7 separate regions of the Homo sapiens genome follow, and all the other regions are linked to region 4. Evidence: promoter capture Hi-C in 16 types of primary human blood cells and fetal thymus (Javierre and others, 2016). All regions are on one chromosome and are shown on one strand. The core of a region is centred on a gene start or on the middle of the fragment in contact, and the rest is flanking DNA. Distances in the headings are between cores, read along the strand shown.

What was found. The method cuts DNA at HindIII sites, captures the fragments that hold promoters and counts their contacts. A CHiCAGO score of 5 or more calls a contact.
Region 1: a fragment that was not itself captured here is called in contact with the fragment with the promoter of RPF1 in region 4 in 1 of 17 cell types (M2 macrophages); the score reaches 8.1 in M2 macrophages.
Region 2: a fragment that was not itself captured here is called in contact with the fragment with the promoter of RPF1 in region 4 in 1 of 17 cell types (total B cells); the score reaches 5.8 in total B cells.
Region 3: a contact is called between a fragment that was not itself captured here and the fragment with the promoter of RPF1 in region 4, in 4 of 17 cell types (total B cells, fetal thymus, naive CD8 T cells and 1 more). The highest score is 6.3, in total B cells.
Region 5: a fragment that was not itself captured here is called in contact with the fragment with the promoter of RPF1 in region 4 in 5 of 17 cell types (M2 macrophages, naive CD4 T cells, naive CD8 T cells and 2 more); the score reaches 7.2 in M2 macrophages.
Region 6: a fragment that was not itself captured here is called in contact with the fragment with the promoter of RPF1 in region 4 in 1 of 17 cell types (naive B cells); the score reaches 5.3 in naive B cells.
Region 7: a contact is called between a fragment that was not itself captured here and the fragment with the promoter of RPF1 in region 4, in 1 of 17 cell types (erythroblasts). The highest score is 5.4, in erythroblasts.

What each region holds. Positions count from the first base shown.
Region 1 is chr1:84,921,412-84,925,242 of GRCh38, reverse strand. No RefSeq gene overlaps it. Among named protein-coding and RNA genes, the nearest start is that of LPAR3, 30 kb to the right of the region's middle. The HindIII fragment of the contact is 1,949 bases long and covers 1,346-3,294 here.
Region 2 is chr1:84,070,062-84,073,774 of GRCh38, reverse strand. No RefSeq gene overlaps it. Among named protein-coding and RNA genes, the nearest start is that of PRKACB, 72 kb to the left of the region's middle. The HindIII fragment of the contact is 4,399 bases long and covers 1-3,713 here.
Region 3 is chr1:84,087,239-84,090,942 of GRCh38, reverse strand. It overlaps a transcript of PRKACB not described here. Among named protein-coding and RNA genes, the nearest start is that of PRKACB, 55 kb to the left of the region's middle. The HindIII fragment of the contact is 8,490 bases long and covers 1-3,704 here.
Region 4 is chr1:84,478,006-84,481,369 of GRCh38, reverse strand. RPF1 (ribosome production factor 1 homolog) reads right to left here and starts at 2,104. Exons shown (of 9, transcript NM_025065.7): 1 at 1,861-2,104; 2 at 358-414. The coding sequence starts at 2,088. RefSeq lists enhancers at 1,528-1,687, 1,883-2,443. The HindIII fragment of the contact is 6,088 bases long and covers 1-3,364 here.
Region 5 is chr1:84,940,010-84,943,463 of GRCh38, reverse strand. It overlaps MCOLN2 (mucolipin TRP cation channel 2), which reads left to right. Exons shown (of 14, transcript NM_153259.4): 8 at 2,473-2,585. Among named protein-coding and RNA genes, the nearest start is that of LPAR3, 49 kb to the right of the region's middle. The HindIII fragment of the contact is 4,398 bases long and covers 1-3,454 here.
Region 6 is chr1:83,993,624-83,997,400 of GRCh38, reverse strand. The region is part of intron 1 of TTLL7 (tubulin tyrosine ligase like 7); the gene reads left to right. Among named protein-coding and RNA genes, the nearest start is that of TTLL7, 3.6 kb to the left of the region's middle. The HindIII fragment of the contact is 4,005 bases long and covers 1-3,485 here.
Region 7 is chr1:84,104,858-84,108,732 of GRCh38, reverse strand. It overlaps a transcript of PRKACB not described here. Among named protein-coding and RNA genes, the nearest start is that of PRKACB, 37 kb to the left of the region's middle. The HindIII fragment of the contact is 3,298 bases long and covers 889-3,875 here.

The DNA.
Region 1 (3,831 bases), core at 1,071-3,570, 440 kb before region 4:
GCCCCTACCCAATTTTCCTTCTCATGTCACCTTCCCCCTCCTTGCTCTGACCCCATCTTCATATGCCTGCACCAACTATAGGCAGGGAAAATCATGCAGTTAATACCATTAAAGTATATAAGAGAGTAGATGACTCATGTCTACACACAGAGTACTTTGCTAAAATTATTTTAAACTTTCTTTTTTACAAGATATGTGAAGAGTTATGTTTGATTTTTAAACTAAGACACCATTAAACTGGTGGTTCTGGGGTCATTTGCCTGACCCAAGAATCAGATACGTAATTGGACCACTTGTTAACTTCTGAGTATATTGTCATATACTTAGTTTTGTCTCTGAAAAGAACTGCTATTTTTTTTCTTTCTCTCTTTTTTTTTTTTTTTAAACAGAGTCTTGCCCTGTTGCCAGGCTAGAGTGCAGTGTCATGATCTTGGCTCACTGCATCCTTTGCCCCCCAGGTTCAAGCGAGTCCCCTGCCTCAGCCTCCTGAGTAGCTGGGACTACAGACATGCACCGCCACACCTGGCTAATTTTTTGTATTTTTTTAGTAGAGATAGGGTTTCACCATATTGGCCAGGATGGTCTTGATCTCCTGACCTCGTGTACGCCCGCCTTGGCCTGCCAAAGTGTTGGGATTATAGGCGTGAGCCACCACGCCCAACCCAAGAATTGCTATTAACATGGTGAAACCCTGTATCTACTAAAAATACAAAAATTAGCTGGGTGTGGTGGCAGGCGCCTGTAGTCCCAGATACTCAGGAGGCTGAGGCAGGAGAATCGCTTGAATCCGGGAGGCGGAGGTTGCAGCGAGCCAAGATCCGGCCACTGCACTCTAGTCTGGGTGACAAAGTGAGACTCCATCTCAAAAAAAAAAAAAAAAAAAAGCTTTCATTTGTTCTGCAGCTGTGACTGCCATTTGAATAGAAGATTAATGATGGGTTTTCATGCTCATATTATTCTTCTATTGGCTTTCATGTTTTCTTTTATTTATTTTCCCTCCAGCTGGACAAAACAGTTTTAGAAAGAAAAATGTTTTTCAGGGTTAGCTCACATCTATAGAAACATTGTTTTCTCCCTTTTTAATAATGTTAAACAATTGTCACTTTATCAACTGTATTGTTATTTGGATTTTATTGAACAATGTTGTCTCATAATTCTGCTAATAGATGCATCTGGGATAAATCATTTTCTCTCTTATCATAGGCCTCCACTTAGAGGGTTCCCTGTGAAAGTTAGGAGACACATTCTTTCTGCCTGCTGGTTTCATTCTGGGATCTCCAACCCTTGAATTTAACTCCTTGGCTTGTGGTGACACAGTCAAAACCATATACAACATCTTAAAGCTTTTTCACTTGAGCTGGTAGGAGAGAGTGTGGGCATAAGAGCCATCTAGACAGACTTGAGTTAAAATTCCAGCTTAACCTAACTTTAAGGCCCTGAACAAGTTACTTTCTTCCTCTAAGTGATGATAAACCTCAACCAAGACTGGCACTTAAGTCACATAATTTATGCAGAGCCTGGTATTGAATTCATTCCTGAGCTGTTATTTCCCTTTGATTCTCTAACATGTTTGCAATAGTTTCCATGGGACCATGGAATAATGCAGACACGACTTTGCTTCTGCAACCTGTCTGCCTCAGCTGTCCTCTTCCTACTGCTACCTGAGTCTCCTTGGACAGGTCATGCCATGCATAGATTTCCTCATCCATAAAATGGGATTATGAGGATTGAATGAGTCAAACGTAAAGTGCATAGAATAGGGCGTGACTCCTAAGTGCTCAATGACTATTAGCTCTTCAAAAAACATGTCTTACTAACATGGTCTACAAATGTACAAATCTGTTCATCTGGGCCAGCCAGGAAGATTTTTATTTTATAATGCACTCACCACACACTTCTGGTGGACTTTGTTCTAGTTAGAACTTTAAGTGTGCAAAAGTCCCCCATCCAGTCCTGTCCTGGAGGCAATGATCAGTTCAGCCCTAAGAAGCTCACACCTAGCCATAGAGGAGCAGCAAGGAGAAGCAGCCTAAATGGCTGGGGCACAGCTGTCAGTCCTGATGGAAGAGAAAAGGTCCAGGAGGTGCACAAGCTGTCACAAAGCCTCAGTCCTTCACCCTGGGTGAGACCCTCAGTCCTCTACTAGGACTACCCCCTTAACCAAACTTGTCAGAATGTATAAAATTCAGGCCCACTTCCTTCTCAACCCATTGCTGACTCAAAGTGGTGAATGCAAAAGAGTGAGAGAGGGTAGTTAGGAAAAGCTCTTCGTGCGATTCGAGGCACTGTCCCCCACTCCTGCTGAGGACCTACACTCCAACAATTGTAAAAAGGGTACACTGATCCAGTGGAAGACCACGCTTGGAATCATGGGTTTATGAAAAGCACAATAGCCCAGCCTTTTGATCTAGGGGTAGCCAGTCGCCCTCTTGTCCCTGTGGACCTTCATGTAAAAATGGCCCAGCACTGGCCGGGTGTGGTGGCTCACGCCTGTAATCCCAGCACTTTGGGAGGCCGAGGCGCATGGATCACAAGGTCAGGAGATCGAGACTATCCTGGCTAACACAGTGAAACCCCGTCTCTACTAAAAATACAAAAAAATTAGCCGGGCGTGGTGGTGGGCACCTGTAGTCCCAGCTACTCGGGAGGCTGAAGCAGGAGAATGGTGTGAACCCAGGAGGCGGAGCTTGCAGTGAGCCGAGATCGTGCCACTACACTCCAGCCTGGGTGACAGAGCAAGACTCCATCTCAAAAAAAAAAAAAAAAAAAAAAAAAAAAAATATATATATATATATATATATATACACACACACACATATGTATATATAGCCCAGCACTGTATTGATGTTCAGGGGCCTTTCTAAAGTCATTGGAAACGTATATTCAATAAACTGCCACCATGGTCTTGGCCACAGAGTTGTTTCTTGACAATATCAAGAGCTGTGATGCTTACAGGTACGATTCCAGATACCTGAACAATTCACTTGTGACAGCCACATATTGCAGTAACATTAGACGAATAGACCTCATTTTACTGCTAATCAGCTCCATTTTTATTTTCTTGTAACTTGGGCAAATTTTATTTTTGCTTTGCTTCACTTGAAGTTTGAACATTTTAACCATGTAGTCCCTCCTTGTTCACAGAGAATATGTTTCAGGACCCCCAGTACAGGCCTGAAACCCTAAACAGTACTGAATCCCATACAGGTTGAGCAACCCTAATTCGAAAATCCAAAAGCTGAAATGCTCCAAAATCTGAAACTTTTGCTGACATGACTCCACAAGTGGAAAGCTTCACAGCTGACCTCATGTGATGGGTCACAGTCAAAACTTTGTTTCATACACAAAATTATTTAAAATATTGTATGAAATTACCTTTAAGCTATGTATATAAGGTATATATGAAACATAAATGAATTTCATGTTTAGACTGGGATCCCACCCCCAAGATATCTCATTATGTATATGTTAATATTCCAAAAGCTGAAAAAATCCAAAAGCTGAAACACTTCTGTTCCCAAGCATTTTGGATAAGGGATACTCAACCTTTATATATTATGTTTTTTCCTATACATACATACCTATGATAAAGTGTAATTTATAAATTAGGCACAGTAAGAGATTAACAACAATAACAAAAAATAGAACAATTACAATAACATACTGTATTAACAATGATAATAAAATAGAACAATTATAATAACAATATACTATATTAATAAAATAGAACAATTATAACACTATACTGTAATAAAAGTTATAAGGATGTGGTCTCACAAAATATCTTACTATACTGTATTCACCCTTCTTATGATGTGAAATGATAAAATG
Region 2 (3,713 bases), core at 635-3,134, 410 kb after region 4:
AGTATTATGAAAGGGACAAAAATGAACAAAATCAATTCCTTGTCCTCAAGAAGTTTTTGTGTAAGGCAAGATGAATAAATAAATCAGTAATTATATAAGATAAATTTGTACTATAGCATAAATGTAAACAACTACTCAGGAAACATAAAAGTAAGTGCCATTAAATCATAGATAATTTAGCATTGAATTTTGATGTTTGACAGATGGGGAAGATCATTGAGAACTAAGAACAGCTTGAGCAGAGGTTTCCATGGAAATTATCCCCAGGTCATACTAGACCCGATGTTATGGAAAGATGTAGTAAGAGTTGCGACTTTCCCACTGGAATGTAAGCTATGTATGGAGGAATTTTGATTTTGTCATCACTGTATCTGCTATATCTAGCATTATGCCTCGTATATAGTAGGTACTCAATAAATATTTGCTGAATGAGTGAATAAATGAATAAATAGTAGGTTCAGATCAGATTGTATTTATTTGGGGAAACCTTAAATGCCACTTAAGAAATATAGGCTTGTTTATTATGCAATAGAGAACTTGAAGATATTTAAAGAGAGAAGTAATATAATCCCACATTTTATTAATAAGGTATCTTTAATAGTAATGTGATGGATATGTTGGAGAAACAATAGATTGGCAGCAAGATGACTATTGTAGTAGAAGAATGACAGGAAATCATTCAACAGTATATCAGTGGAAGAAAAAAGAAAGGATCCATGTCAGATACTTGAATGTTAAGATCTATAGAATTTGTTAAGTGTTAAGACTCCTTAGCATAATACAAGTGATAGAAGCCCAATTCAAACTAGCATAAGAAAAAATAAGCAGAACTTACTAGGTCACAGAACTAGAAAATTTAGGTTGGACATGGTTTTAGGATTAGATAGATCCAAGGATGGATATCTCTACATATTAATCCTTATTCTGTTCATATATTTGACTGTATTCTGCCAAACAGGCTCTCTCCACATGACAAGTTTACATCCTCCCATCTTAACAATCTAAACAATAATGCCTTTTCTTTCCCAGCATCTGTGTAGTATAAAGTTAAGTGAATATCCCTTATCCAAAATGCTTAAGACCAAAAATGTTTCCAGATTTTGGATTCTGGATTATTTGCATATACATAATGAGACATCTTGAGGATGGGATCCAAGTGCAAACACAAAATTCATTTACATTTCATGTATTCCTTATACACATCCTGAAGGTAATTTTACACAATATTTTAAATCATTTTGTGCATGAAACAAAGTTTTTAACTGCATTTTGACTTCAACCTGTCACATGAGGTCAGGTATGGGATTTTCCACTCATGGCATCATGTTGGTGCTCAAAAAGTTTGGCTTTTGGAGCATTTTTGATTTTTGGATTAGGGATCCAACCTGTATATTACACATATTGGTTCTGTATGGGTAACATTCACATTCCTATGAAGAGAGGACCCCATGGTTGACATGAAATGAGATAAGTATAATTTTCTAGAAGAAACCATCATATGGAGTAGACAAAAACGGCAGATGCCCAATATAGTGAAAAGAAAAACTTAGAGCTCTCAATCAATTTTCTATCCTGAGTGAGTGGATAATGAGATCAGGAATAAAAGGGAAAAAAACTGTTTTTTAAATTAGTGAGAGACGTGTAACTTGGGTCATACTGAGTTCGAGTTGGTAGTGGGACTTCTATATGGGGATGATGAACAGCAGGAAAATATAAAGTTAGATAAATACATGAGTTGTGGGTCATATGTTCTCAGGGCCTCCTGAGGGCTGTGTCATGGGCCATGGTCACTCATATTTGGCTCAGAATAAATCTCTTCAAAATATTGTACAGTTTGACTTTTTGTTAACAATATTTTGGCACCCAAACATGTTGGGCCTCAGAGAAGACTCAGGACCCCACAGGAGTTGCCCAAACTCAGTGCTAAGGTACCAGCAGGGGCCCACTGAAGCCTCCCTGACTTTGAGCTTCTCCTCTGGTGGAGCTCATGTGTCCTCCTGAGCCCGCACCTCCCTTTGGTTGAGGGTCCTTGATCTATTCTGAGCTGGTTTTTTTTTCTCCTAGGAAGTTGCTGTTTAAGGATCCTAATTCTAGCTCCGATCCTAATTTAATTCTAGCATTCAAAGAGTCTTCTCCATTGCTTTTCTCCCAAAATTAATCTCAATTTGGCCTGGTGCACATTTGAGTGAGGAACTGAATTGTTGTTTTCATAGGTAAATGAGAGACTGCGTTTCTTCAGCTCCAAAGAGAAAGGGTATTTGCTCCTCCCACCTGAAAAGCACCCCTGGGTGGCCAGGGGCCTCATGGGAGTGTCTGGGGTGCGGCAGCCCTACAGGGAACCCCCAACAAAATTAGTTTTAAAAAGGCTTGTCCAGGAAGCACATATAGGAGCTGATCACTCCATACTTTGAGCCCATCTGGAGGGGCTTAGATCTCCAGAGAGAAAAACTGAGACACATAAGACAGTGGCAACGACTCACTGTAGAGTCCTGCTCGCAAGCAGCAAACACTTCAATCCACTCCACAAAAGCCCTAGGCCACAGCTCAATTCCTCCTTTAAAATAAAATAAAATAAAAAGTGTGGGAAACAAATAATCTAAGAATGAGGAGAAAACAAGGAGAATAGCCTCCCTTCAAGCACTCTAGGTTTTGTGGTGCCTCTACTTGCCAGAGTTTGTGTAAAATGGAAGTAATATGGTCTTTGTGCACATTTACATTAAGGAAAAAAAGCCTTAAGATCGACCTGCAAACGACAGAGTTCCTAAGTTCTCTTTTTTTTCTATTTTCGTTTTTTCCTACTTTAAATCTGCTGTTACTTTTCCACTGAGATAAACACTGTTTGGGTCTAAGAGGTGTTTTTTTTTTTTTTTTTTTTTGGCAACCCAAGGAATTTGTATTTATCTCATGGCTAAAGTTCTGAAGTAAAAGCTATAGGGTCTTTGTGTGTGTGTGTGTGTGTGTGTGTGTGTGTGTGTGTGTGTGTGTATGTGTGTGTATTTAAAAGGTCCTTATAATTTCTATAATTTTTTGTTTAATTGGCAATTAAATCTGTTTTAACTTCCCTCTAGCACACCAGACTTTCTCTCTCAGTACCTTGAGATGTAAATTTTGCTATCTGATTTTCCCCTAAGAGTTGTTTCCTTTAATATGCAAATTTAAGGCCACTTAGCTGACAACTGCCTGAATAGTGAAACAGGTTATCAAGAATTTAAAAGCCTAAGATAGGAAAAAAAAAAAAAAAGAAAAAAGGTCTTATGAATCTATAAGATGTATTTCTATTAGCATGCACAAATATGTCTATGTATTTGTGTTGTGTACACAATGTTTCAGTACTAAAAATATATAAAACAGCTCTAGCTAATTGGCTAAAATATAAAAGCACTTAAATCGGATAATCAAAAGAAAAGACTAGTCAAATGCTTTTTCAAGTTAATGTGATTTAAGTAAAATTTTTAATAAAATAATCTGGCTTTAAAATTATTGGTAAAATAATATTAGAGATGTCTTAAAAATTGTTAGCATTTTTGATCTACTGGTTTTGTGCTCACTCCTGCAGAATTCTATAAGCCATAAGGGTTATAAAACTATAGCATTTTTGATCAAGTGGTTTTGTGCTTACTTTGGCAGAATACTATAAGCCATAAGGGTTATAAAACTATAAAATCCAGCTCAAGACAAAATGATCTTTGCTTGTATAATTTTCGACAAGTAAG
Region 3 (3,704 bases), core at 727-3,226, 390 kb after region 4:
CAGGAGGGGTTGGGATCCAAAGTAATAGTGGAGTGATTGGGCTTGCAGAGAAAGATGTACAATGTGATTTCTACATGTCCCCAAATTTTTCTAACTCCTTCCATCAAAGTGCAGAATCTAATTCAACTTCCCTTGATACAGACTCATTTAAGTGACTCACTTAACAAACAGAATGCAGCTGAAGTGACACTGCTTGACTTTGGAGGCTAGGTCATAAAAGGTGATACAGCTTATACCTGGCTCTCTCCCTCCTTCTTGGAACTTAGCCACATGATATGGGGCCCAAGCCACATGTAGAGGTCATGTGTAGGTGCTTCAGCTGACAGTCCCAGGTAAGGTTCAAATTACCTGTACAGCCAGCATCAACAGGGAAACATGTAAATGAGCAAGGCTTCATGTGTTTCTAGTCCCCATAAACCATAGCAGTGATTTATTAGCAGAGCTAAGATAGCTGATGTCATATAGAGTGCATAGCTGAGCTCTGCCCAAATTACTTACTTTCATAAGTAAAATAAATGTTGTCACTCTTTAAGCTGCTAAATTTAGGAGTCCTGCATGATGGAACAATAGATAAATATAACAGACAACTCCTCTATTATAACAGAATAAGATGGTCAAGTTAAAATACAGTAGGTGTGAACATTTAATAGGAAGAAGTTAAAGGGGTTCCTGTCTGATAGCTTTTATTTTCCTTGTAAAATATGACATAATATCATGACTTAGAATGAGAGAGATAATGGAGAAGTCAGAGGTATAAAGAGAGAGAAATGAAATAGAACTTGTGAAGAATGAGAGACAGAGTTGATCAGAGAAATGTGGTAAAACTGTAAAGTCATGTTGACAGCTCATTTGAGGTTGATGATAGTAAATTTCTAGTGTTCTTCTGTGCAGCTTTCTCTAGCAGTGCTTAGCTCTTGACTGAAAGCACTGAGAAAGCACATAGCTGAGTTTATCATGAGTTACATTTTTGTTAGAGAGATTTGATAAAGAGGCAGATGTGCAAAGGAATTTTGGGACCAAGTAATCTAGAATGGTTAAGAAGAAAAAATGAAAGTGAGAGGACTGATGGATAAATGGATGAGAGGTTCTGATGAAGAATGATCATAATGGGAATATTTAAAAAGCAAGCAAAAAGGAGAGGAAATTGTGATCAAAGAATCACACACATTGGTGATTCTTGAGCAGTTAATGAATATTACAAGGTCTTTGGCAAGACTAGACATCTGAATGAACAAAAGGGGAATAGGAGATAACATGGTCAAAGAACAGAGGTGCAGTGATGATAGATGAGTCATTAACATAGAATTTGAAACCATCCAGGATGAATGCAGAGCTTAGAGTATAGAGAAACATTGTGGGCCAGATGCCAAAATATTTGATGAATAAGAAGTAAGCAAGAGACTGGTAAATGACAGCAACAAGGATGAGAAACACAGTGGCACAGTTGAATGATACATGCCTTGAATAACAAATTTTTCAAAAGGTTGGGAGCATAATACTCTAGTTTTTCCTAGTCCAGTGTCTTCTTCCTACCTGCCTGAGACCAATCTCCCCATACCAACTGTGATATAATTTTGATATGTAAATGTCAAAGAAGTTACTATATACCATAAAAAGGGGGGAAAGAGGTACCCTCTTATCACATTAATCAACTATTATCCCCAAATAGTCAATACATTACTGACAAAGTTCCTGCCAATGGAGGAAAGGGAGGAGGATGTACGCTTCTACAGGAGGTTTGAATTTTTGATCCATTTAACTATCCATGATTTTAGCTTCCACCATGACATGAGCCAAGAACTGTGCCACATTCCAGAGATTAAAACACTAAACAACATAGACACTGCTTTGCCAGATCACACTGTAGTGGGTATAAGAGTTGAAAAAGCAATGTAGTACAAGTGCTACAATTATAGATGTAAATATTTCCAAAATGGACTCAAAGGAAGTTTCCATTTCAGTCAGTTTCAGTCTATTTCCCAAGATGATCTCAGAAATTCTATACTACTCCTCTATAAACTCCTATGCTACATTTTCACCCTAGTATTAATCTCAGGCACCTATGTATCATTGTATGCCTTACTATAAATATCTGTATCTGTCTCCCAATTTAAGGACAGGAACCAAGTCTTATTTTTATTTGCATCTACAGACTAGCATAGTGCCTGGTTTAAAGTAGGCGCTCAATAAGTACTGATTAAGAATGAATGAAAGACAAATAAGTGAATGTTTTGCCTGTCATTCTATGAATTGAACTATGGCTTATTCATGACCTAAAGACTACAGCCTAAAGTGAGGCTCATATTCTTCCACAGTTTAACCTGTCATGGCTCCTACTCAGAGGGAGCTGAGCTAAGATTGAAAGAGCTAAGTTACCAGTAGAGCTAGCCCCTGTAAAAGAAGTAATATCTATACCAACATGTTCTCTCAAGTTTGTGGCTCACATATAACAATGGCCTGCTGATGCTATATGGTCATCTACTTAAGAAGAATACAGTATAGAAATGGAATATTCATTTTACTAAACAGGACTCTAAACTAATATGATCACAAGAATAGTCTCTTTAATTTTCTAAGGACAAAGTCCAGATCGAGAAAACAGGCTTGTCAGAGACCTAAAGGTTTAGATTCCACAGTTATCTTACAACAAAACAAGTTTCAGATGTCCCTGAAAAGTTAACATATGAATAGAAGACAACAGTGAATATAACATTAAACTATGGCCATAGAGCCTGGGACTTTATACCTTGTTACATCAGGCCAGATAAAAAATATGGCATCTACATTGGATTTTCGAAGGCAGAACTAATACCAATTATGCTAGTGTATCAATTTAACTTATAAGAATCCCGAATTTGATTCGGAAAATTTTCTGCATAGATACATAGCATTACTGAATCTAATTCACATTACAAAAAAACACGTCCTATAATCCACTTCCTACAACATTCTCATAATTGTGCTTTTACTTGTCTAAATCTTTTACCAGACTATAAGCTACATGAAGACAACTCTTTACTCCCTATTTCACTGGCTAGGGAATAAAAATGAACTAAATGAATAAATTAATTATAGCCAATTAAAATAAAGAAATCCACTAAAAGCAATTTAAGCTATACCACCATATCGGGGAAACAATTTATTTGCATAATAGTAGTAAACCTTAGTATTAGCAAGAAGAAGACTTATCTTATAAATACTGATGATTCTTTTGGAAAGTGCTGGGGGCTAGAGAGATTATAAAACCTATCAAGAGTAAAAAAACAAGCCTCGATGGTACACACCTGCAGTCCCAGCTACGCAGGACTGCCTGAGCCCAGGAGTTTGAGTCCAGCCTGGGCAACACAGTAAAACTCTGTTTCAAAATAAATAAATAAAAATAAAAAATTATTTTAAAGAGTAAAAAAGCATTATCTAGCTTTTGAAATTGCTAAAAATACTACCTGAATTTGTAAACACATGTTTCACCTTTAAACATAAATGACTAATCAGTTAAATACATTTATTGTCTAAGCCCAGTCTATATCAAGGTTTTACGATAATTCATTTTACTTGTTCTACAGCTAGCTTTTATAAGTTTGGAAGAATAGTCCATGAGTTCTAGTGTTTCAAGTTTAGGTGAGCAATCCCAGATTTTCTGTCTATGCCACTTGATTTTATACACTTTAATCATGTAACTTTAATTTTTCTAGATTAAATGAAAT
Region 4 (3,364 bases), core at 855-3,354:
CCTCTGAAACACAAAGTTATATGCAAAATACCACCACTGTGTTACCGTATAGGTACACAAACATACACAGTAAAGGTAAAAGAAGTGCATGGAAAAAATAATCAAAAATTTCACGAGTGGTTATCTTCGGAGGGAAAAGCAATTATGAAGCAGACGAGGGGCTTCCAACATTCTTTGCTAATGCATTATTTCTTAAGCTGGGTAAATGATACAAAGAGGTTTATTATATTACTTTTGTATTTCTTCATACATCTGAAATACGTAATAATAAATTTTAAAAGAAAGTAATTCAACTTAAATATCAGGAGGGATTCCCTAATATAAGATAGAAAGCAAACAGCTAAAAATTTTATTTACCTTATCGCCAAGAGCCTCTCTTTCTTTTTTAAGTTTTTTCTTAGCTGCCAACTTTTCCTAAAGGGTTAAAAAAAAAGAGAACAATACTGAGAAACAACCAGTTATATCACAAACACATACTGAAACTACAAATTACTAATGCTATGAATACTCGAACTGGGCGGTCTTTGTAATCTATTGAAATAAGCATCTGGACGTGGAGTTTTCTACCTAAATTACTGTAAGCCAAATGAGCTGGCCAATCAATAAGATTTCTTTAACAAAGACCTGCTCCTTTAAAAAAATCTAAACTGGCAAGTTTGAACATTTAAAATTTGAGTAGCTTAACCTTTTTCCATAAAGCCTCAAATTAATTAAAGTATGTGATGGTTTCCACTGTGTTTTGTTTTGCCTAACTGGTGGCATCCTAAAGACGACCATGGTTATGCTGCTTGCTTCTCTTGAAAAGCACTAAAAATAGGAATGGGAGCTGAGTTTTCAGGTTGTTTTCCATAAAACCATCACCAGTTATTCACATATTTTATAATCAAAATATACTTCTAAAATTTAGTAAGAGCTTGCAAGGTGGCTTAAGATTATCTGTATTTGTATTGTCAATCTATATATTCTTCTGGAGATTTCTAGATAGAATGCTTGACAAAATAAAAAATATTCTTTTTTCCCCAGCACCTACTGATCCTCAATCCACCAGGTTTCAGATTAGAAATCATAGCTCCAATAAGTCTTCCAGGACATCCCTCCCCAATACGTGCATACCAGAATGAGTTAAACGCCCCTTGTATGTATTGAAACAGCACCTTGACACTGAACATGAGTAAGAACCAGTCCCGGGCCTCAGAAGGGCCAGTAAGAGGAGGCAGACACATAATAATAATATTGTGTGAACTTCTACGATGTGCAAGAATAAGCAAACGTTTTCTTCCAATTGCAATTTAACCAGAAATGAGCACTGCGACCTTGACAAGTCGTTTAAACCTCTTTACGTTTCAGTTTGTTTACCTACCAGAAACGTATAAGGATAAAGCTGAAAAGAACAAATACAATTACCAGAAACTTTACAGTACTAATTTCGGTAAGGAGCTCCTGCAGGAATCAGAGAAGCAGTATTTTGGATTTATTACGTATTGCCTCCATTTCAGATTCTGCAAATTAACCAACGCTACCTAGACGGACCAAAGGGCTGAGACTTTTGCCTTCTGGGCCAGGAGGGCGTAGTTTTCACTACTAAGCCAACTGGCCTTACAGCTTTCCTTGTGAATCTAGCGTCCCAGGAAAGAGCCTATCAAGATAATCTTCCACCTTGACGCTCAGGCAAAAGGCTGAACCTAGAGTCTCCAAACTAGGGCGAGGGGACCAGAACACGTGGGCCGCGACGCCACCCTTCCCACGGAGCCACAGAGAACACTTTTGAGACCAGCAGACAACCACAGATGTGCGCCCCGCGACCGCCCTAAGCGTCAGGAACAACGCGCAAGCGCCCGGCAGCCCCCGCCTCTCGCGTACCTTCCGCTGCTGCTGTTTCCACCGCGTGAACATTAAGTGTCGCCGCTGTTTGTTTTTAATCTCCGAAATGCTAAAGCCTGGCGGAAAGGCAGCCGCTTTCGGGGGTTGGACCCCGTTTTCCGTCGCCCCATCCCCAGCGCCTGCAGCCTCCTGAAGTTCTTCGGCAGCGGCTTTCCGTTTTAGACTTTTCTTCCCGCTGCTGCTGCTCTTATCCCCGGCTTTCGCCATGGTCTTGGCTCCTTTGCTTCCGTACGGAAACGGAAATAGCCTTCTCCTGTGACCCCCTTCCTTAACCTTTTACTTCCGGGGTCGCAAAGTTTTTGACGCTAGATGTGTTTTGTGAGTTTTAGCCATTCAAGAAAATAGTAAAGCTGAGGCTTGAGGAAACTTTAGGCAGTTTGCCCAGCTGTATAAAGAGTGAGATGATGAGTTTGGGCACTCCTTGCGCATCTATGTGCCCAGCCCTCAAAATAATGGAACAACAACAAAAACCGTGCCTGGATTAGTTTACGTTTTACTTGAGGGAAACCTAAAATGAGCATACAAATAAATTATGGTGAGCTACAGAGTAAGACATGGTATGGAAAAAAAATAGAACAGGATAAAAGAAGATGAAGAGACATTCATCTTTTTGAGACGGAGCCTTGCTTTAATGCCCAGGCTGGAGTGCAGTGGCACGATCTCCGATCACTGCAAACTCCTCCTCCTGAGTAGCTGGGACTACAAACACGTGCCACCATGCCCGGCTAATTTTTGTATTTTTGCAGAGATGGAGTTTCACCATGTTGGCCAGGCTGGTCTTGTACTCTTGATTTCAGGTGATCTGTCCGCCCTGGACTCCCAAAGTACGTTGCAATTTTAAATAGGATTCTCAGAGTAGGCTTCATTGAAAACGTTACATTGAGCCAAGGTTTGAAGGAGGTAATGGGCTAAACTAGTTATCTGAGGGAAGAGCTGTTAATCTGAGAAAAGCTGGTTATCAAGGAGAAAAGCTGTCCTGGCAAAGCAAACAGCCAGCTCCAATGCTCCTAGTCAGTAGCAAGCCAGGAAAGGCAAGAAGTGTTGAGATTGGACAGGTGGTGTAGAGTTTTGTAAGGACTTTGGCTTTTATTTTATGTGAGATGAAGATCTCTTATAGAATTTTGAGGAAAAGAATGGTATGATCTTAACATCTTAAAAGTATCAGGCTGGTGCAGTGGCCCATGCCTGTAATTTTAGCACTTTGGGAGGCCAAGGCAGGAGGATTGCTTGAGCCTGGGAGTTCAAGACCAGCTTTGGCAACACTGTGAGACCCCATGTCTACAAAAAGTAAAAAAATATATATATCTGTTTGGGCATGGTGTACATCTGTGGTCCCAGCTACTCAGGAGGCTGAGGCAGTAGGATCCATTGAGCCTGGAAGGCTAGGTTGCAATGAGCCATGTTGGTGCCACTGCATTCCAGCCTGGGTGAGAGGGTGAGACCCTCTCAAAAAAATAAATAAAAATAAAGTAAAAGCGTCATT
Region 5 (3,454 bases), core at 686-3,185, 460 kb before region 4:
CATCCCATTCCTGAGCTCATCTCCTTTTCTAATTCTCAAACATTGCTCCCCATCCCCGACGCTGTCCTTCCCAGTGGTCTCTCTGAGGGGCCGTCACTCCCATGGCTTTAACTGCCACTGAATAGTCTTCTCTTGTCATGAATATCCAGAGTAAACTCAGTTTGCCCAAGACAGGGAACCAGGAATCATTCTTGGTTGTCCTTCTTCCTTATTCCCCAAGTCCAGTTAGAGACCAGGCCATGACTCTCTCCATCTCTTACGATTCTGTGCCCTCTTTCACTCTGCCGCAACTTAGCTCAGACCAACATAAGTTCTAACTTAGATTATTCAGTGGTCTTATGTTCTGCTTGATTCTCTTCATTAATTTGAAAGTATACTGAAGCATTATACTAAGCACAGGTGCTGTATTCAACACTACTGTCTTAGTCCGTTTTCTGTTACTTGTAACAGAATGCCTGAAACTAGCTAATTTATAAAGAAAAGAAATGCATTCTTTCAGTTCTGGAAACTGAGAAGTCCAAAGTCGGAGCCCCACTTCTGGTGAGGACCTTCTTGCTGGTTGGGAGTCTCTGTGGAGTCCCAAGGCAGTGCAGGGCATCACATGGTAAGGGGGGTGAGCATACTAGCTCAAGTCTCTCTTCCTCTTCTTAAAAAGCCACTAGAGCCATTCCCTTGATAACCCATAAATCTATGAGTGGATTAATCCATTTATGAGGGCAGAGACCTCATGACCCAATCACCTTTTAAAGGCCCTCCCTCTCAATACTGTCACATTGGGGATTAAATTTCAAATGAGTTTTGGAGGAGACAAGTAACTCAAACCGTAGCAACTACCTATGGGCCCTGCTTCAGAGAGCCTGTCACTTGATGGGGAAGATGGACACTTAATGATAAAATAGTAACCACTGTAAGTGTTTGCTATTATTATTTTCCTGGGGCTGTTTCATGGGCTCTTTGTATATGAACTTGCATAATTTTCACAATAGCCCTATGATGTAGGTATTTTTTAATTCTACCCACTTTTCAGAGGAGGAAACTGAGGCACAGGGGTTAAGCAACTTCCTCAAGGCTCTACAGCTTCTGAGTACAGAGCTGAGATTCAGAGCCAGGCTGTCGGGCTCCAGAGACCATGTTCTTTCCCATTCTACACTGTCTCTGTGCTCCATGCTGTGCTGCCTTTGCAGATGTAATGAAAGGTCAGTGTCTGTTGTGCAGAGGAAAGTAAAGGAGCTCTGGGTGTGTGTAGTAACCAAGAACCATGAAAGTATATAGGAGAGGGCTAATAGAGATGAGAATTTAAGGAATTCTTTTCTGAGATGGGAGATTTTTCATTTGGAACTTGAGGCTGAAAATAAATAAGCTGAGCCATGCATGTGGGAGAAGTGCTGTTCCAGGCAGACAGATCAGCATGTGCAAAGTCCCTGAGGTGAGAGCAGGAAAGAAGGAAGATCAGTGTGGCTGTAGGGTGAAGAAGGTGGGGGTCAGGCAGAAGAGAGCTGGGCTGGGATTGGAGACACTACCGTGAAGTCTGAGAGAAACTAAGGTTAGATTCATCTCCTTCCCATACATTCTTCTTGCTGCTGTGTGCTCCAAACCAAAAATCTGATTACCACTCCCCTCCTTGCTTCTGTTCCAAGAAGTAATTTTCTCTACATACAGAGAAGGCTTATAAGATTGGCACTATGTCCTGGGAAAGTGCACAGTGAGGTTGAGAAGCAGAAGTGGGGATTCTGAGTGGTGGTGTTTTAATTTGTTTGTTCTCTTATTAATGGTGAACTTGATGTCTCTGCTTTTATGTGAAAGAACTCAGAGTAGGTCAGCAGTTTTGCCTTTTTTTGAATGGAGCCCAAATGGATCACTTTCTGTTGAATTCTATTCTACAGTAAATATTTATATATAAATTTGAGTGAATTTATTAGCAGCTCACATAGTTTTTGCTTTTGTTTTTGTTTTTTGTTTTTTGTTTTGAGACAGAATCTCGCTCTGTTGCCCAGGCTGGAGCGCAGTGGCACGATCTCGGCTCACTGCAAACTCTGCCTCCCGGCTTCATGCCATTCTTCTGCCTCAGCCTCCCAAGTAGCTGGGACTACAGGCGCCTGCCACCACACCTGGCTAATTTTTTTGTATTTTTAGTACAGACGGGGTTTCACCGTGTTAGCCAGGATGGTCTTGATCTCCTGACCTCGTGATCCGCCCACCTCAGCCTCCCAAAGTGCTGGGATTACAGGCGTGAGCCACCGTGCCTGGCCCAGCTCACATGTTTTTAAATGTATAGCTTTATATCAGGGAATGTTTTGCCTTACATATGTACTTCTGAATGAATGCGGTGTGATTTGTTTCTGATATTTACCATTTTGTTTTAACAATAGACAAAACATTTATTGTTTGAACTTCTTTTCACACTGCCATTTTGTTTGGAAATTATTCTCCGGTAAGGTGTGTTTAACATTTGAATTCTGTTTTATTCCTCAGCTCAGAAAAATGCTCAGTATGTCCTGGTGTTTGATGCATTTGTCATTGTGATTTGCTTGGCATCTCTTATTCTGTGTACAAGATCCATTGTTCTTGCTCTAAGGTTACGGAAGGTAAGAGTGTGTTCGCATTCTCTTCCTGCCCTCTTGGCCTGCGCCCTCAGTTTGCCCAAGCAGTGGACCACCGATATTGTGCACCTGCCTTTTTTGGAGACCTTTGACTAAATCAGATTCCTTTGAGTAGTTGCCCGCTATGAGGCATTCATCAGCCTGAGGTGTAGGAAGTGAGTAAAGGCTCTGAGTATGTCAAGTGGGATCAGATAATTATCCTGCTTAAAACTGAGCTGATATGTACAGATGCACAGTGGTGAACTCTCAGGCTTTTGAATGTTTCCAGAATAACAAATCCCTCTTCAATTCAGGAGTGATCTGAAGAACAGAGTAATAGCATGTGTGGGTTTCATCTTTTGTCTTCAAATCAGAGTTCATTTTGACAGGGAGGCATGGTAAATGGATTATAATGAAGCATAAAATACTTTATTCTGTTTTTAAAATAGTTTTAAAATTCTCCCCTGAGTTTCATTTTGCCTTTTTACCCTCAGGGCTCTTATGAATATATACTTCCGCTCCCCACATATCTTATTCTGGCTGTGGCGTGTGTACAAATGCACACTGGGGTCAGGGGAAATTGGAAGTCCACAGAGTACCATTTGTGGAGCAGGGACGTAGTCTGCATTTGATTTTGCCTAATCCTGACCTTTGTCAATGTCCTTTGTAAATATCCACCTTTCTTACATGCTCCCCAATCCCCTTGATATTCTGAATGCAAAGTTAAGGTCCTTTCCCTGCCAAGGTGAGGGGGCTCATATTTGGAGCACGCACTCTGGAGCCGGCCTGCCTGGACACGGATCCTGGCTTAGCCTCTCGGTGCCTCAGTTCCCTTCTCTGGGTGATAGACCTGCTCGTACCTGCTTCATTGGGTT
Region 6 (3,777 bases), core at 234-2,733, 480 kb after region 4:
AAAATAATGGATGCTAGGTCTTTCTTCGCCCGTTGATGGGTCCTTTGACTTGCTTTCATTAGCGACTTACAGATTTTTTCTTAAGAAATGCATCTCTTGTTTATGTCTCAAGAGGCAGGTTGCTATAGTACAGATGCTCATTATCTCTAAATACTCACATAGTATTGATGGTAGGCAGGAACAGAGTCATCTTAGTATGTCATTTCTAAAGTATTGAACCATTTGCATTGGAGAATTCTTTTTCAAGTTAACGGGGGTATTGATAAAGTCCACTGCCTAAATAAGGACATAAAATGGAGGCACAAATTTATATTTGTTGTTCAAACAAGAGTATGAGAAGTGGGGTCTTGTGAAGAGTCTTGAGTTTGATTCCTAAAAGTCATTTCATTTTGTTCTTTACATGGCTATAACCTATATCCTGAACCTTGGCAAGGCATCTTGTAATCCAATCTGTTTAATCCTAAGGGGGACAGCAGAACTGGCATGAATGAATAAGCAAAAATACAATACCACTGCTGTTAAAAAAAAAAAAAGGAAAGTGCATGTCCTGGTGATGGATGGTCAGCAGCAACATTTTAAAACAGAGACAGCACATTTTACTTAGATGACATCACTGAGAGTATGAATATAATACCAACTTGGCTTTAGAACTGCTCTCTCTCCTCTGTCCAATGACTACAGTCTGCAAACCATCTAAATTCCCCACTTCAAGGAACTTAAAGTCTAGCAGGGGAAATTTTACTTACACGTGAGTAATTAACAAATAACTTAGAATTGGCTTAATACCAGAAAAGGGTGGTGCAGACCTACTGCTATAGCGGTACCTTAAGAGAAAAGAGAAATAGTAGAGCCTTGGATGATCAGAGGATCAGGAAAGTCTTCATGGGTTGAAGTGAATTAAATCAGTCTCAGAGACTGGAAGGATTCTGATAGGCAAAGAGAAAGCCACATAAAGGTTCAGCTAAGAAGTGCTCATCTACTGTTTGGATACATGGTGAAAGATCATGAAGAAACTTGAATGTCAGACAGTGAGATCTGTTTCTGATCTGTTAATCATTTCTCTTTCTTACATTCTCCATATCTGTTGCCCCGAGTCCCCTTCCAGGAAATGGTCTGTTTCCTGGGTACTAAAAGGATTGTCAACTAAACTGAGAAAAAGTTTTCTGTGCAAGTACAATTTTTCCTCTTCCAAAGGAATTTGCCTTTTAGCTCCGGCCCCCATTAGATAATTATGAACAATTTGGAAAGTTTAAGAATATAAAAAGGAAAAAAACACCCTCATAATTTGACCAACTAAAGACAATCACTATTCATTTTTGACATGTTTCTTTCCACTTTTTTCATGCGTAGTTTTAATTATGGTATCTATATTACTTTTATATTATTTTTAAATTTAAAATTCTATAACTTTAGTTTTCATTTAATTACAACTGGCTTAATACTAGGTTTAAAATGCCTAATAGCAGGCTTAAAAATGACTACATAATTTTCCATTTGGTAGATGTATTATCATTGCCTAATTGTTCCTCATTGTCACTATTGATGACATCATAATAAACAATTATTGATGATAATAATAGCACTGTGATGAACATCTTTGTGCGTATGCTTTTTTTTGTATTTTGAATATTAGTTCCTTTGCATAGAGTCTCAGAAATAAAATTTCTGGGTTAAAGGGTATGAGGTCTTGAAGTTGCACTATTTTAAGCAAGTTTTGAAACTACTGAGTTCTTATATTAGGCCATTCTTGCATTGCTATAAATAAATACCTGAAACTAGGTAATTTATAAGAAAAGAGGTGTAATTGGCTCACAGTTCTGCAGGCTGTACTGGAAGCATGGCAGCATCTGCTTCTGGGGAGGCCTTAGGAAGCGTCCAATCATGTTGAAGGGGAAGGGGGAGCAGGCACGTCACATAGCAGAAAGCAGGAGCAAGAGAGAGAGTGAGGGGGTGGTGCCACACACTTTAAGTGACCAGATCTTGTGAGAACTCAGAGTGAGCGCTCACTTACCGCCAAAGGGATGCATTAAGCCATTCATGATGGATATGTCCCCAGGATTCAAATATTTCCCACCCCCACCTCCAACACTGGGGAATAAAATTCAACATGAGATTTGGATAGGGACCCATATCCAAACTGTATCAATTCCCAGTGTTCAATTTGGAATACTTACATGTTGATTATAGAATATTTGCATATTAATAATTCATAACACCCAATCTTGTCTGTGGCTCCTCAGATTATAGTCTTTCAAGCAACTTCTTTTGATTAGACTAAAGACTGATTAAATCATGGAGACTGGGAGAAAGGCAGGCAGTTGGTGTTACTGAGGAGAGAAGATACTAAGTTGGAGAACAGGCTTGGTGAGAGTGAGTAAGAGTTGATAGTCAGAGAAGGAGAATATGTGATAGACTACTTTCTGGTTCCAGTGTTGTATTTGTGGACTTCAGCTGTAAACCTCTGCATTCCCTCACCCACAACACACATATCTATCTCCTTCAAATTTCAGTTTATTCTATCCTCTTATATCAGATTCCCAGGTCTCCAGCTTCAGGGTCCTGATATTGCAAGGCACAGCTGTGAGCTCACTTTTGCACTCTAATTTGGGGAATTCACAAAGGTGAGAGCAGGAATTTGGGACCTCTGCTTAGGTCTGAGCAGAAGTCCTGGGCACAAGGTATAAGGTGTAAGGGAGGGACAGTTGACAGACATTAAAGACCTCTCCTGCCTCCCCTGTACATTTGCCAGAGATGACCTTTGAGAACAGTGATTGTCAGATGCATAAAGTTCCCAACATCTCTTCTCAGCATTCAGATGCTCCCCCTCCCCTTGTTCCCAGTATCCTTCCACCAGAGGAAATTCCCCTCATGCAGGAGAGAGACTGTGCTTCAGTTTCCTCTATTCATTGTAGGGATACTTGGCACTACCTTCTTGCAATGAGAAGGGCAGGGGCCCAGTGTTGGACGGGTCCTTTGGGCTCCTGACTTGCTCCTCCAGGTTCTCACCTGAGCTTCCTCACTGTCCTACCTCCACTCTCTTTCAAGGCTGGGAATCCATTGAGGTAGGCAGGCCATTAAGTGTCTATGAGAGCCAGTGGAAGCAGAGCCAAGGCAGATGAATGTGCCTGAGGGCACAACTAGGGAGCAGAGAGGCAGGTTCTTATACTATGCCATCAGTCTTGAGAGACTTGAAACAATGAAAACAAAAGCATCACATTATAAACCAAAAAGAGGATTCCCACCCCACTTTTCAGGTCCTGAAAGAGGATTTCTGATAGAAGCTGGACATTAACATAGGCAGAGTATTTTAGGCAGAATTTGTCCTGTGCTTAGTTGAAACCTATTATTGAAAAGTTTGTAAGCTCTTAGAAGGTGGTAAATCTATCTCCATTTCTCTCAGGCATTATCTGTCAAAGTTGAAGTGAGCTTAGCAAATATTTTTCCTGGAGTTAAGTTAAAGTAGAAAAGTTAAACTTAAATAAGCTTGAGTATTCTCCACTAATCTTTATTTCTGTTATTTCCTATTTGACATTTATCTGTTAACACACTTCTGTCCATAGTACACACAGTAGTTGACAGAGCCAAGATATTGGAATTGTTTTGGCTCTGGGATGGTGAGTGATAAGTAAATTTTCCCCCTTTTTCTTTCACCTTTTATTTGCAAGCAACTAGTTGGCTTATGTTTCCTTTGAAGGTGTAGAGTTAAGTACTCCAGCATTCACTGGGTCTTCTCTGTGGCTGACCCAAAGGTCTCTGATCCTTTCTTTTGAAATTGGT
Region 7 (3,875 bases), core at 1,288-3,787, 370 kb after region 4:
TAAATCAAGACTATCTGAATGTGAATCCCAGTTATGTGATCTTGGGCACATTACTTAACAACTATGGGCATCAGTTTCTCATCTGCAAATGAGGTTAATAAAAGTACACTCCTTATTGGAGGGTCTTCGGGTGGATTAAATAAACAGATTAAAGCACTTATAATGGTGTCTGGTATACAATAAGCACTATATTATTATTATAATCTCAATTTGTTAAAACTCACTTTTTTTTAGTATTTTAATTTTTATTTTAGGTTCAGGGGTACATGTGCAAGTTGGTTATATAGGGAAACTTGTGACTCAGGGGTTTGGCATACAGATTTTTTCATCACCCAGGTATACCCAATAGTTTTTCTTTTTCTTTTCTTCTTTTTCTTCTGAACCTGTCCCTCCTCCCGCCTTCCACCCTCAAGTATATCCTAGTGTCTATTGTTCCCATCTTTCTGTCCATGTGTTTTCATTATTTAGCTCCCACTTATAAGTGAGAACATGTGATAGTTGGTTTTCTGCTCCTTTGTTAGTTTACTAGAGTTAATGGCCTCCAGTTCCACCCATGTTCCCGCAAAGGACAGGATCTCACTCTTTTTCATGACTGCATAGTATTCCATGGTGTATATGTACATTTTCTTTATCCAGTCTACCATTGATGGACATTTAGGTTGACTCCATGTCTGTGCTATTGTGAATAGTGCTGCAATGAATAAACAAGTGAATGTGTCTTTATGGTAGAATGATTTCTATTCCTCAGGATATATACCTGGTGGGATTGCTGGGTCCAATGGTAGGTCTGTTTTTAGATCTTTGAGGAATTTCCACACTGCTTTCCACAATGGTTGAACTAATTTACACTCCACCAGCTGTGTAAGTGCTCCCTTTTCTCTGCAAGCTTGTCAGCATGTTATTTTTTTACTCTTTAATAATAGCCATTCTGACTGGTGTGAGATGGTATCTTGTGGTTTTGATTTGCATTTCTCTAATGATTAGTCATATTGAGCATTTTTTTCATGTTTGTTGGCCGCATGTATGTCTTCTTTTGAAAAGTGTCTGCTCATGTCCATTGTGCACATTTTAATAGGGCTGTTTGCTTTTTGTTTGTACATTTGTTTAAGTTCCCTGTAGATTCTGGATATTAGACCCAGACTAACTATACATTAGTCAGATGCATAGTTTGAAAATATTTTTGTAGGTTGTTTGTTTATTCTGTTGATAGTTTCTTTTGCTATGCAAAAGCTCTTTAAACAGGTCCCATCTGTCAACTTTTGCTATTGTTGAAATTGCTTGTGCCATTTTCGTTATGAAATTTTTGCCCGTTCTTATGTCCAAAATGGTATTTCCTAGGTTATCTTCCATGGGCTTTACAGTTTTAGGTTCTCCATTTAGGTCTTTAATTCATTTTGGGTTGATTTTTGCATATGGTATAAGGAAGGGGTCCAGTTTCAGTCTTCTGCATACAGCTAGCCAATTATCCCAGAACCATTTATTGAACAGGGAGTCCTTTCTCCATTGCTTGTTTAATCAGCCTTGTCAAACATCAGTTGGTTAAAACTGACACATATATCCATTTTATATATGTTTTAAAATATATTTTAACTTTTATTTTAGGTTCGGGGGCATATCTGTAGGTTTGTTATATAGGTAAACTTGTGACTTGGGGGTGTGGTGTACAGATTATTTTGTCACCCAGGTACTAAGCATACTACTCAACAGGTTTGGTTTTTTTGTTTGTTCATTTGTTTTCCTTTTTATCTTTCTCTTCTGAACCTCTCCCTCCTCCTGGGTGTGTGGCTTCATTTCTGGGCTCTCTATTCTGTTCCATTGGTCCATGTGTCTGTTTTTATACCAGTACTATGCTGTTTTGGTTACTGTAGCCTTATAGTACAGTTTGAAGTCAGGCAATGTGATTCTTCCAGCTTTGTTCTTTTTGCTTAGGATTGCCTTGGCTATTTGGGCTCTTTTTTGGTTTCATATGAATGGTAGAATAGTATTTTCTAGTTCTGTGAAGAATGTAATTGGTAGTTTGATAGAAATAGCATTGAATCTGTAAATTGCTTTAGGCAGTATGGCCATTTTAACCATATTGATTCTTCCTATCTAAGAGCATGGAGTGCTCTTCCACTTGTCTGTGTCATCTCTGATTTCTTTCAGCAGTGTTCTGTAATTTTCATTGTAGAGCTCTTTGACCTTGGTTAGCTGTATTCCTAGCTATTTTAACCTTTTTTGTGGGAATTGGGAATGAGATTATATTCCTGATTCGGCTCTCAGCTTGGGTGCTGTTAGTGTATAGCAATGCTACTGACTTTTGTATATTTATTTGTATCCTGAAACTTCGTTGAAGTTGTGTATCAGATCAGGGAGCTTCTGGGCAGACTATGGAGTTTTCTAGATATAGAATCATGTCATCTGCAAACAGGGATAATGTGACTTCCCCTCTTCCTATTTGAATGCCTTTTATCTTTCTCTTGCCTGATTGTTCTGGCCAGGACTTCCAACACTATGTTGACTAGGAGGAAACTCACCCATATACTTTTAAACAGGATATACAATCACCCCTTGGTATCCATGGGAGATTGGTTCCAGGGCGCCTCTGGATATCAAAATACATGAATGCTCAAGTCCCTTATGTCAAATGGCATAGTATTTGTATATAGCCTATGCACATCTTCCTGTATACTTTAAATAATCTCTAGATTACTTATAATACCTATTATACTGTAATGTAAATAGTTATTATTATTTCTACTTTATTTTTTATTATTGTTTTGTTGATTCAACATTTTTGATTCATGGCTGGTTGAATCCTTGATTGTTTGAATCTGTGGATATAGAAAGCCAACAGTATTCAAAAAATGCTAACAAGCTGGGTGTAGTGGCTTACACCTATAATCCCAGCACTTTGGGAGGCCCAGGCAGGTGGATCTCCTGAGGTCAGGAGTTCGAGATCAGCCTGACCAATACGTCAAAATCCCATCTCTCCTAAAAAGAACAAAAATTAGCTGGGCTGTGGTGGCGTGCACCTGTAATCCCAGCTACTCAAGAGGCTGAGGCAGGAGAATCACTTGAATCCGGGAGGTGGAGGTTGCAGTGAGCTGTGATCGTACCACTGCACTCCAGCCTGGGTGACAGAAGGAGACCCTGTCTCAGTAAATAAATAAATAAATAAATAAATAAATAAATAAATAAATAAATAAATGCTAACAGTGGTTATCTGTAAATGCTAGGATTCTGGTAGATTTTTCTTCTTTTCTTTTTTTCTTACATGTAGGTAATGATGAATGGAAAATTTTCACCTTCTTAATATTTTTCTGTAAATTATTGAGTTGAGAAAAATAGTTTGATATGCTTACTCTAGGTCAAAAGTCGTGGTGCCTCGATGTCAGAATGACTTTTCCATGAAAGAGGAAAGTTTCTCTCCATAACAAGGGGGTGGAAATGAATTGGATGGTCCAGAAAAAAACATCCAGAAGAGAGGAGTGACCGCAGTTGTATTCTGTTCTAGAGAATGGTCAAGAAAGAAGACTTCCAATTAACAGTGCAGTGAGAGATTCAGTTGAAAAAAAATTTTAATGTCTCATGAGGACTACATTGGTTATTTACCTTTTGGTTATTTATACAAACTATCCTGAATTGTATTTAAGAAATTTTCAGTCAGCTGTGCTCTGCTAACTAAATGCCTTTAAGAAAACGATTTTTTTTGTTTTGTTTTTAGAGAACACTCCAAGGAGAGTCCCACTTGAGACTTTTTAAGTAAAGAATGGTTCCCAGCTTTATCTCCAATTATATAATTACTCTAGAATTAAGTCAAAAAGATATGCTCACCATAACTGCCCAACTAGTAGATGCAAGGTACTGAGGAATAAACTTCTATTCCATGGAAA